Regions from separate parts of the Homo sapiens genome. Here region 2 is linked to region 1. Evidence: promoter capture Hi-C in human tissues and cell types (Jung and others, 2019). All regions are on one chromosome and are shown on one strand. Each heading gives the region's core, a stretch centred on a gene start or on the middle of the fragment in contact. The rest is flanking DNA. Distances are from core to core; before and after follow the strand shown. Region 1 holds the start of FDX1 (ferredoxin 1). Region 2 has its middle 71 kb from the start of POU2AF2.

Region 1 (5,029 bases), core at 1,355-3,854:
ATGAATATCTCATTGTTCCCCTGCCCCATTTTGCCTATGCTATCTTACGTAAAAATGTAGATTTCCTGCATTTTTCCTCTGCTCCATTTGTCTCTGTCATCTTATATATAAAAAAAAGCAGATGCACTGAGCTAGACAAGGGTATGAATGACTATTTTTCCTTATCCCGCCATACATGAAAATTATGTACTTCTCAATATCCCACCTTTTCCCCTTTAAATTTGGAGCCTTCAAAATCATCTTCAGAGAAAGGCATAGAACTGTCTCCTGGGCGTGCATCCTTAACTTTGGCAAATCAATCTCCTAAAATGATTGAGAATTGTCTCATCATTTTTCTCGATTGACACCTTTATAAAAGGGTTGGAGGAAATTGGCATGTTTGCCCTTCTTGCAGCATGTGAGGACACAGCAACAGGACACCATCTTGGAAGCAGAGACTGGGCCTCTCTATCAGACATTAAACCAGTTGGCACCTGGGCGACCCAGTATCCAGAACTGTGAGAAAATAAATTCCTGTTCTTTACACATTACCCAGTCTGTGTGTTATTCTGTTATAGCATCATAAACAGAATAAGACAAAAGTCTTCAAACAATGAATGGATTTTGAAAGGAGTAAAAGATGGGCTGGGCATGGTGGCTCATGCCTGTAGTCCCGGCACTTTGGAAGGCTGAGGTGGGCAGATTGCTTGAGCTCAGGAGTTCCAGACTAGCCTGGGCAACATGGCAAAACCCCATCTCTAAGGAAAAAAAGAAAAAAAAAGGGATGGAGGGGTGGGAGTTTTATAGACAAAGAAATACATAAGCAAACAGATAAGCAAAAGCACGTCCTCAGTAATTCCATGTTGCTTTATCTGTATTCATGATCATGTTTACAAATCCATTCTGGAATTCTGCTGACTACTGATATTTGCAATTTTTGGCATTACTTCTCATCCACCTTAGAAAACCTGGAGAACATTTTTTCTATCTTTAATCTTCATATACATGCTTAATGAATTCTGATGATTATTAATGGAAATTTCATAACATCAATTTATTCACCAATATTTATTAGACCCTTGATATGTTCAAGACCCTGTAGCTGGTGCTGTCGGAGTCACTAAGATGAACTATATAAATAACTACTCTATGTGTACGAATAACTACCCTACAAAGCAGAAAGCTATCAAGTGCCTTAAGGGAGTTGAAACTGTATTTGCTACAGGAGGGCTGAGAGAAGACAGAACATCTACGATTTTTTTTCTTTTCAATTCTCTTCCTACAACTAATTCATCCGACCTTGGAAGTTTGGTCTTACTAAAAACAAAAGTTAGCTGTTCTTTTACAACCTCCTCTTCAAGATTACTTGTCAGGGTTTGCTGTGCCCTTCGCAGCTTGAAAGACTTTCTCTTCATCCAACGATTTGAGGCAATTAGGAGCCACTGCCTTCTCTCTGCCATTGGGTTCCAGAAAGCACCATACATTGTCCGCAGATACTTTACTCATGCTTACACTTTCTTGTTCTGAATCTTCAAAAATTAGTGGCGTGTGGTGGCACACGCCTGTAGTCCTAGCTACTCGGGAGGCTGAGGCAGGAGAATCACTTGAACCTGGGAGGCGGAGGTTGCAGTGAGCCGAGATTTCGCCACTGCACTACAGCCTGGGCAGAATAGAGAGACCCCATGTCAAAAAAAGAAAAAAAAAGTATCTGATTGTGTTTAGCATATCTGCAATATCCCCTTGACTTTGGCCTTTAGCCTCTTTATGAGTACCCTGATGGAGGAAGGCCCAGGAAGCGGTAGCCTTCCTGGTTTGTGACGCACGGTGTGCATTGCGTATTAGATTAACATCAGAATGGCCCTGAAGGCTGGAACATCTTATCTGTGTTTGAGAGTTATGGAAACTCTGATCCTCCATGAGAATAATTTTTCCAAGGTCTCAGATCTCTAAAGCAGTAGATCTTGGATCTGAACATTGCTATTTCTGACCTTAAAGCCCATGCATTTCCCACAACATATGAACCATGATAAGGTGTATTTTAAAGTTCATCTTTTCTGTTTTTTGTGAAAGTCTTTTAGAGATCTCAGCTCATCACAAAGTTTCCGGTTCAGTCTCGTGGGTTTCATGTACTCAGCCAGCATTTACTTGCCAGTCAAGGTCTAGGATGGCTACCTGTCCTCTGCAGGAGCCCCAAGCCTATTCATTAATTTCATTTACAATTTTATAGTCATAATTATTTCTTTGTATAATAGCATTCTGAGATTTTCCAAAATTTCCCACTGTTTTTGTTTTACAGTGGGCAGAATTCACTTTGCTCTAACTTGACTCCAAGATGACACAATTTCCCAGTTTTTTTTTTAACGGCTAGGGGATGGGGGTATGCGGAACAGAACACAGTGGTCTAGCTAACCGATTTCCGCTAGACGTCCAGCTATCTTTCAAAATATTTTGTTTCTGCACGGCAACTTCAGCCGCTAAAAAAGCATCCAGCTTACAACGGAACCTGGAGGGTTGGTAAAGGCCCCCTGCGCTGGCCCCGCCCCATGGGACCGGGCGGCGTGGGCGTGAGAGGCGGGGCGGGGCCGCGCTCTGCTTGCCAATGTCTTTATAGGTCACCCGGAAGGCACGCGGAACCTCGGCGCGGTGCTTCCAGCAGGGTCTCTCCGCCACTCCAGCCCCGCGCCCCTCGCCGCGGCCCTCGGGCGTCTGCGCCGCAGCTGCCGCCCCCGCCTCTTTGGAGTCTCTCGCGGCCTCAAAGCGCGGCCTGCGTCGCTTCCGGCAGTTCCCGACCGCGGGCGATGGCTGCCGCTGGGGGCGCCCGGCTGCTGCGCGCCGCTTCTGCTGTCCTCGGCGGCCCGGCCGGCCGGTGGCTGCACCACGCTGGGTCCCGCGCTGGATCCAGCGGCCTGCTGAGGAACCGGGGGCCGGGCGGGAGCGCGGAGGCGAGCCGGTCGCTGAGCGTGTCGGCGCGGGCCCGGAGCAGGTAGGGCGCCGTGCGGGCGCGATCGCCGGCGCGGGCCGGGGTCCCCGGTGGGTGGCGCCTGGCTCTCTGGGCCGAGTCTCTGGTTCCAGTGCCTTCTGCGCGCCGGGCCCACACCCCGGAGGCCTGCCTCTCGCCCCCCTCTTCTGGGGTGCTCTCGCGGCTCCGTCTCGCTGCTCGGTGGCGTCGCTGCCTCCCTTCCGTCGCACCGCAGAGTTCCTTTCCGCATCACCCACTCCCGGCGGGAATCGGGGACCCTGGACGCCCAGCTCCCTTTCCCAGCGCTTCCCGTGCCCTGAGGAAAGCCGGGACTTTGCTGCTGCTTGTTCTCCGTGTGATTTGTCTGGGATCTGACCTTTGCTCTGCCCGAAACTGGCAGTGACCTTCGCGACAGGCTTCCCTCCTGCTGTCCTGGCCTGACACACCTGCCAGCTGTTTTTTTCAGGGCCTTGCCCTGCTTTGAGAGGACACCCAGGTCCCAGGTCTTTGTCAGGGGGTGTCCAGGTAGAATACACCCAGCCCATACCCTCTGCTGCCCTGTAGGCCCTTTGCTAGTTGCTCAAGTGTTGAAAGCCCCTGCGTTGAAGTAATCTGCCGGGACTTGAAACTTGGCTTTGGCACTGATTGTCTGACGTGCCTAACTTGGTCAGTCCTTAGGAACCCAGTTTCTCCATTTGCAAGTTGGATATAATAACAGTGTAGACCTCCTATGGTTAATTGAAGAATCAATGAGTTAATACAGCGATACAGGTAGTCTTGTGCCTAGCACGTAATGAGGGCTCAGTAGATGCCACTTGGTAGCAGCAGCAGCAGCAGCAGCAGCAGCAGCAGCAGCTTCTTAGGTTCACAATGTTAAGAGAGTTTTGTATTAAATATTGAAAGAAATGTGACAATTTATCCCAAATGTGTTGAAGTTTTAGGTTCTTGGGCATATTTGTTTTTCAAAGACACTCCTTAGATATACTAGAGATACAATTTACACATAATTTTTACCAACATGGTGGCGATTTATATAATGCAGATCTCTCGACAGCTCTTTGACCGCATGATGTAGGGTAGCAGGAATCGAGAACTAGAGGGAGAGTGTGTTGGATTTGTACGCTGCTTTGTCTAGTTTCTTTTTGAGGTCTCTGAGAGCAGGGTCTAAGACTTTCAGTCATCTTTTCCCCACTAATCCCGTTATCTAGTGGGTGCTCCATACATTTTTGTTGTGTGAACTTTGGGGGAAATCAGGGAGAAGGCAAGCCAGATTTATTTGTTCCTGTTTCCTCTGCACTTCCCCCCCTGTCTTTGACCAGTGTGGGTACCTTGCTTTCTGTTATACAATGGATGAGTTTTGGACAACTGAATCAATTGGGACAGATATTGAACATGCTTGTGTAACTGGTATAAGGGAACATGAATGTTTTTGTAGTAATTGGGAGTTATCTTTCTCAGATTTGTTTTTTGGATTTGGATATGTCAGGTTGTTTTAAAGGGGAGCACGTCTATTTCCTCATAATCCTGCTGCCCTCTTTATTGGCACAATTTCTATTCATGGTCTTATCATTCCTCTTACAGACTTTGGAGCTACAACTGGATTTTCCAGTTCTTACTGTGTTAATGAGACTTGTGCTGTAACTACCGTAACTACTAATCACATGTGGCTATTGAAGTTTAACATAATTAAAGGTAAATAAAATTAAAGATTCAATCTCGTAGTTACACTAGCCACATTTCGAGTTCTCAGTAGCCACATGTGGCTAGTGGCTACTGTATTGGACATTGCAAGTATGTGTAGAACATCTTTGTTATGGCACAAAGTTCTTATAGACAGACAGAGCAGTTCTAGAAACTGTAGTTCTGTCTTTGAAGTTTAACAACTCGATAAGCTATCAGTAATTGAGAGTCAGAAAAACTCCTTTTACTCTAAAATACCGTGACACAAGGGGGTTTGCAGTGATTCAGGTAGCAAAGATCTTTCACGTGTATTGTTTCGTATGACTCTTAAGACAATTCTATGAGGTAGGGAGGGTAGATAAATGGGAATAAAAATTTCATATTAAGTAGCTGGCAAAACTAGGACTAGAA
Region 2 (4,938 bases), core at 1,617-4,116, 750 kb after region 1:
ACATCATATAACTCATGCCTGAAGGAAGCCTATTTAACATATGCATTTTCTCACGAGGCACATCACAGCCTTCTTGTACTTAGGAACACTAGACAGCACGGGGGACCATTTTAAGTAGCAAAATTACTAACAAAAAGCATCAAAATGCAAAAAACATGGCACTGAATAGACTTCCAAAAGGTCTTTTATTTAACATGAGAGCAGAAACAAAAAGGCAGAGTGTGGCCCTGTTTGACCTCAGCTGGGAACATGAGCATTTAGGCAACTCAGATTTTTCACCACTCTATGCGTGTCCACATATGACCTCAAACGTGCCACAAATATTGATCTGGAGTTTATAACCAAATTTAGCGAGTAGGTGAATTCGCAAATATAGAATCTAAGAAGAAGGAGAAGTACAGTGGGGATGAGTTCCGGAGGAAAGAAAGTCCTCTCAAAGGATTATTCTGAGATTCAAATGAGATCATCCATATAAAGGATTCAGCATCATGCCTGACAAACAGGCATCAATAGATTCTTATTCTCTGACTGGTCAAATGAGGTCACACCTCAGAGAGGAGGGAACTTTGAACTGGCCCCTGAAAGACAGATTCGAGACACGGATATGGATGGATGAGAAGAAAACTATTCAAGGCAGAAAGAAAAGTATAAGCCAAGGCAAAGAGGCAGGATATTAAAGAATGTATACAGGGGGAATCAAATGGCCACAACCTGGCTGAATCCAACACTGTATAAAGGAACTTGGTAAGAAAGAATTTGAAAAGGCAGGTTGGGCCAATTTACAGAGGGCCTTAAATTCCAGGCTGATGAATCTGGACACAATATAACAGGCCACAGAGCAGTCTTGGTGTTTGTTAAAGAGGAAAGTAGTGCTCAGAGCTGAGTTTCCAGAAGAATAAGCTGAGGATGGCATGTAAAAGTAATGGTGGTGTGGGGGCAGGAACTCAGGAAACCACTCGGAAAGTAAGAGTATCACTGATTGTAATATTCTTGTGGTCATTTTGTGATTTTGGAAGAATTGGATGGGGGTTAAAAAGGAAGAAAGAGGAAGGGTTTCAATGAAATACCTTCCCAAACCTCTTGACGAAAATAATTACTTGAGTCCTCATCAGTAATACAAATCCGCAGGCCTCAACCCATACCCTTGGGATGTGAATCTCCAGCACAGTGGTCTGGGGAACTGTCTGTCTGCCAGCCCCTCAGGTTGTTCTTTCCATCAGGGAAGTCTGGGAAACACTGTTTCTGAGCTACAGAAACTGAGAACAGCTACTCTACATAACCAAGCTGAGGACAAGAGAAATACCTAGACCCCATGTTTCCAAGCTCCAGTCTTCACCACTGCTGACTTGTTTTCTCAAGCAATTCTGTGCTTCCCTAAAGAAGCAAGTATGCTCACTCACGTGGAGCCCACCACCCCCAGCCTGGTAGTGAGGGAGTGCAATCGGTTTCATTAATAAAGCAGCCTCAGAGAGGAATTTCATTTAAAAACAGAGACAACTAACTATATTAGTTTGAAATAAGTTCTGTACTTTCTAAACTCTAAATACAAATTCATTAGTTTTTAATTCTTTTTTAAAAATCCAGATTCCACAACTCTATGAACTGTTTAATATGAATTCCCACTACAAATTCTAGAGCAGGAATACAAGGTATTTTCTATATTTACATTTAAGCAAACAGGTGTGAAGCAAGTAAAATGTGTTCAGAATTGCTTTAGACTCTACTAATGAACTGTGAAGATTTATTTTATGATCCGTGTCATAACGAATTCTATGGAGCACTAACAGAACCAAAAGGAAGACTTACAATTTTCAACAGTAGATATTAGATGGTTAAGACATCCCAGGAATCCAGTGTGTTTTTAGTAGATGTTATTAACACATTGTTGAGTAGGTTACACTGTATTGAAGAGGGCTCTAGAAAACAGACAGTGGGCACAAAGCTACACTGAGGACTGCATTAGAATGTATGCTTATTATTTAAATTTCCCTGAGATAATTTATACACTATTCATTTCCAACAAAAGATCAAGCGAGGCGTGGTGGCTTACGCCCTGTAATCCCAGTACTTTGGGGGGTCAAGGTGGGTGATCACCTAATGTCAGGAGTTTGAGACCAGCCTGGCCAACATGGTGAAATCCCGTCTCTACTAAAAAGACAAAAATTAGCTGGGCATGGTGGCACATGCCTGTAACCCCAGCTACTCGGGAGGCTGAAACATGAGAATTGCTTGAACCTGGGAGACGGAGGTTGCAGTGAGTCGAAATCACATCACTGCACTCCAGACTACATGACAGAGCAAGATTCGGTTTGAAGAAAATTTTAAAAAGATCGGAAGTCATATAATATTGGTATCTTAAAAAATTTAAAGTAATTACACAACTAAACTGGAGCTTAACCCACAAGGGCTCTTGGCTTTGCCCAGGAAAGAATTCAGGGGCGAGCAAGAGATGGAAGAAAGCAGCTCTATTGAAGTGGCAGTGTTACAGCTCCGGTGGTGTTACAGCTCCATGACTGCTCCTGCAGAGCAGGGATACACCTCAGGCCGTGTGCTCAGGGTAGCAGCTCAGGGCAGTTTTGCAGTCATATTTATACCGACTTTTAATTACATGTAGATTAAGGGGTGGTTTATGCAGAAATTTCTAGGGAAATTTCTTTTGGGTTGTTGGGTCATTGCCTTGGAAAGAGGTGGTAATTCCTGAGTGTTGCCATGGCAATGGTAAACTGACATGGCACACTGGTGGGCATGTATTATGGAAAGCTGCTTCCTCCCAGTCCATTTTAACTAGTCCTCAATTTGGTCTGGTGTCTGAGCCCCGTCTCTGGAATCGAGTCCTGTCTCCGCCTCCTACCCCAACAGAGTAAGACTTTCTCAGCCTCCTGCACCACCCCACCTATTAGCCAAAGAGAGGAAATCCCTGATAACCATTACACTGCCCTATTTATGTCTTTAAGATAGAGTAAGGAGTTACAGGTACATAGTGTCTTGTATTTATTAATAACAACCATATCATTATGACAGAAAGCATGATGAGCAATAGCGAAAGTGTGTTTTTAAAAAAGCAACACCATGGATATCTGATCAAAACTTTGTTTTGTGAGCAATATAATTTAATACATGCTATTAGTATATAGTATGGGCTGTAGAAAAAATAGAATGCAGTATTTACCAATGTGCTTATGAAATCTATGGAAATTGGTATTTCTTGTTTTTCTCGGGGGTCAGCATGATGTCACAGAAAGTGCACAGTTATTTAGAGGCCAAAAGCCTAGATGTGTAAATCATGTTTGCCTGACTTAGCAGCTGTGTGGCCTTGTGGACCTTCCTTCAACCCCTCTCAGCTTCCATTTCTCCTCTGGAATATGGGAGTCATAACTGCTACACGGAACAGTTTTGAAAATGAAATGAGAAAACACATAAAGAACCCAGGTCAGGACATTGGCTCATAGCAGCCATTCAGTGCGTGTTGGTTTCCTTATTCCCTTCACCTTTCTGGATTAGGTCACATCCAGTGCTTCCCACATGCCAAGGCCAGTCTGAATGTCTGGCTCTCAAACTTTTGGGGATCCAGATGCTTTGTGCCTCTAATTAAGGTTATAGATCATCTCCCCTAACAAGTTCATGTGCATATAACATTTTGCAGGCAATTTCTCACAGACTCCCTAGTATTCACTTATGGACCCACTTGGGGTCCACAAATCCAGGTTAAGAATGCTGGACCTAAAGAATCTTGGGACAGTAAAGGACTGTGGTGTGTATGAAAGATTTGCTCACCAACTATAAAGAAACTAGAGGTCCTAATCATCTCCAAGACACTATCTGGCAAGTTATATATTTCTGAAGCCTGAATTGACATGTACAGGTCCATCTTGTGGCACTAGTAATAGCATTCTCACACACACACACATATGCATACACACACATGCACACACACATGCTGGCACACACACACATCAAGTATCAATTTGCGATCACTAGTTTACATGGAAACTAGGAGCTTCATTGGAATAAAAGCTTGAACAATAGCCAGTACTATGGTTCGGACATCTCAGATATTCATGATCGAGTAGGAGTCAAAGATGCAATGGAAACCACAGTGAAGAAAGGAACCGAAAAGAAAATTCACCAAGCAGAGGAAATCAGCAACAAGTCCTGGCAGGTCACAAAGAGAGAGTTTCAGGTGGTGACCTATGCTTAAAGCCTTTGTTAAATCTAGCTGTCTGGGCGGCATGTGTGATCCTGGAGAGAAAGGAGCCTATGTAACAATGGAAAGAGCTGTTCCACCAAACCCTGCAATGCCTTATGACCATGTGATCCACTGCAGTTCATCCTGCCCCAATTAAGTGCAACACAGAAGAAAAAGCATTTTCCTTCCCCATTCCATGGAGGGGCTGATGGCAGTGGTGGCCTGGATGAATCAGGAGGGATCTGGGCATAACTGGGGACAGAGGCCCATGCAGAAAGCTGGAACCAGAGAAGGGGCACTAATTGGCATGACAGAGGACAAAATAAGAGTAACCTGGACCCACAGGCACAAGTAAGAACCCTTAAGGGATGCCCAGAATACTTGAGAGAAGGTGTTTAATATCATTAAAAGCTCAGATTGTGTCTGTGGGTGTATGTGTGTGCATGCACACACAAGGGCATGTACATATGTATGTATATATGAAAGTTATAAGTGAGAGGTGGTGTCTTAGTCCATTGTGTGCTGCTGTAACAAAATATTACATATGTGGTAATTTATAAAGAAAAGAAATTTATTTCTGACAGGTCTGTAGGCTAGGAAGTGCAAGGTTGAGTGAGTGGCCTGAATCTGGTGAGGGCCTTCCTGCTGCATCATCCTGTGGTGGAAAGCAAAAGGGGAAGAGAGTGCAAAAAAACAAGAGACAGCAAGAGAAGGCTGAATTCCCCTTTATAACAAATCTACTCTTGCAATAA

What was found. Contacts are between HindIII fragments. The study calls those that stand out against the background at their distance.
Region 2: a fragment that was not itself captured here is called in contact with the fragment with the promoter of FDX1 in region 1 in 1 of the 25 tissues and cell types used here (lymphoblastoid cells).

Annotation. Positions count from the first base shown.
Region 1 is chr11:110,427,344-110,432,372 of GRCh38, forward strand. FDX1 (ferredoxin 1) reads left to right here and starts at 2,605. Exons shown (of 4, transcript NM_004109.5): 1 at 2,605-2,962. The coding sequence starts at 2,778. RefSeq lists a silencer at 2,419-3,068 and an enhancer at 3,139-3,418. The HindIII fragment of the contact is 14,779 bases long and covers 1-5,029 here.
Region 2 is chr11:111,172,632-111,177,569 of GRCh38, forward strand. No RefSeq gene overlaps it. Among named protein-coding and RNA genes, the nearest start is that of POU2AF2, 71 kb to the right of the region's middle. The HindIII fragment of the contact is 4,277 bases long and covers 729-4,938 here.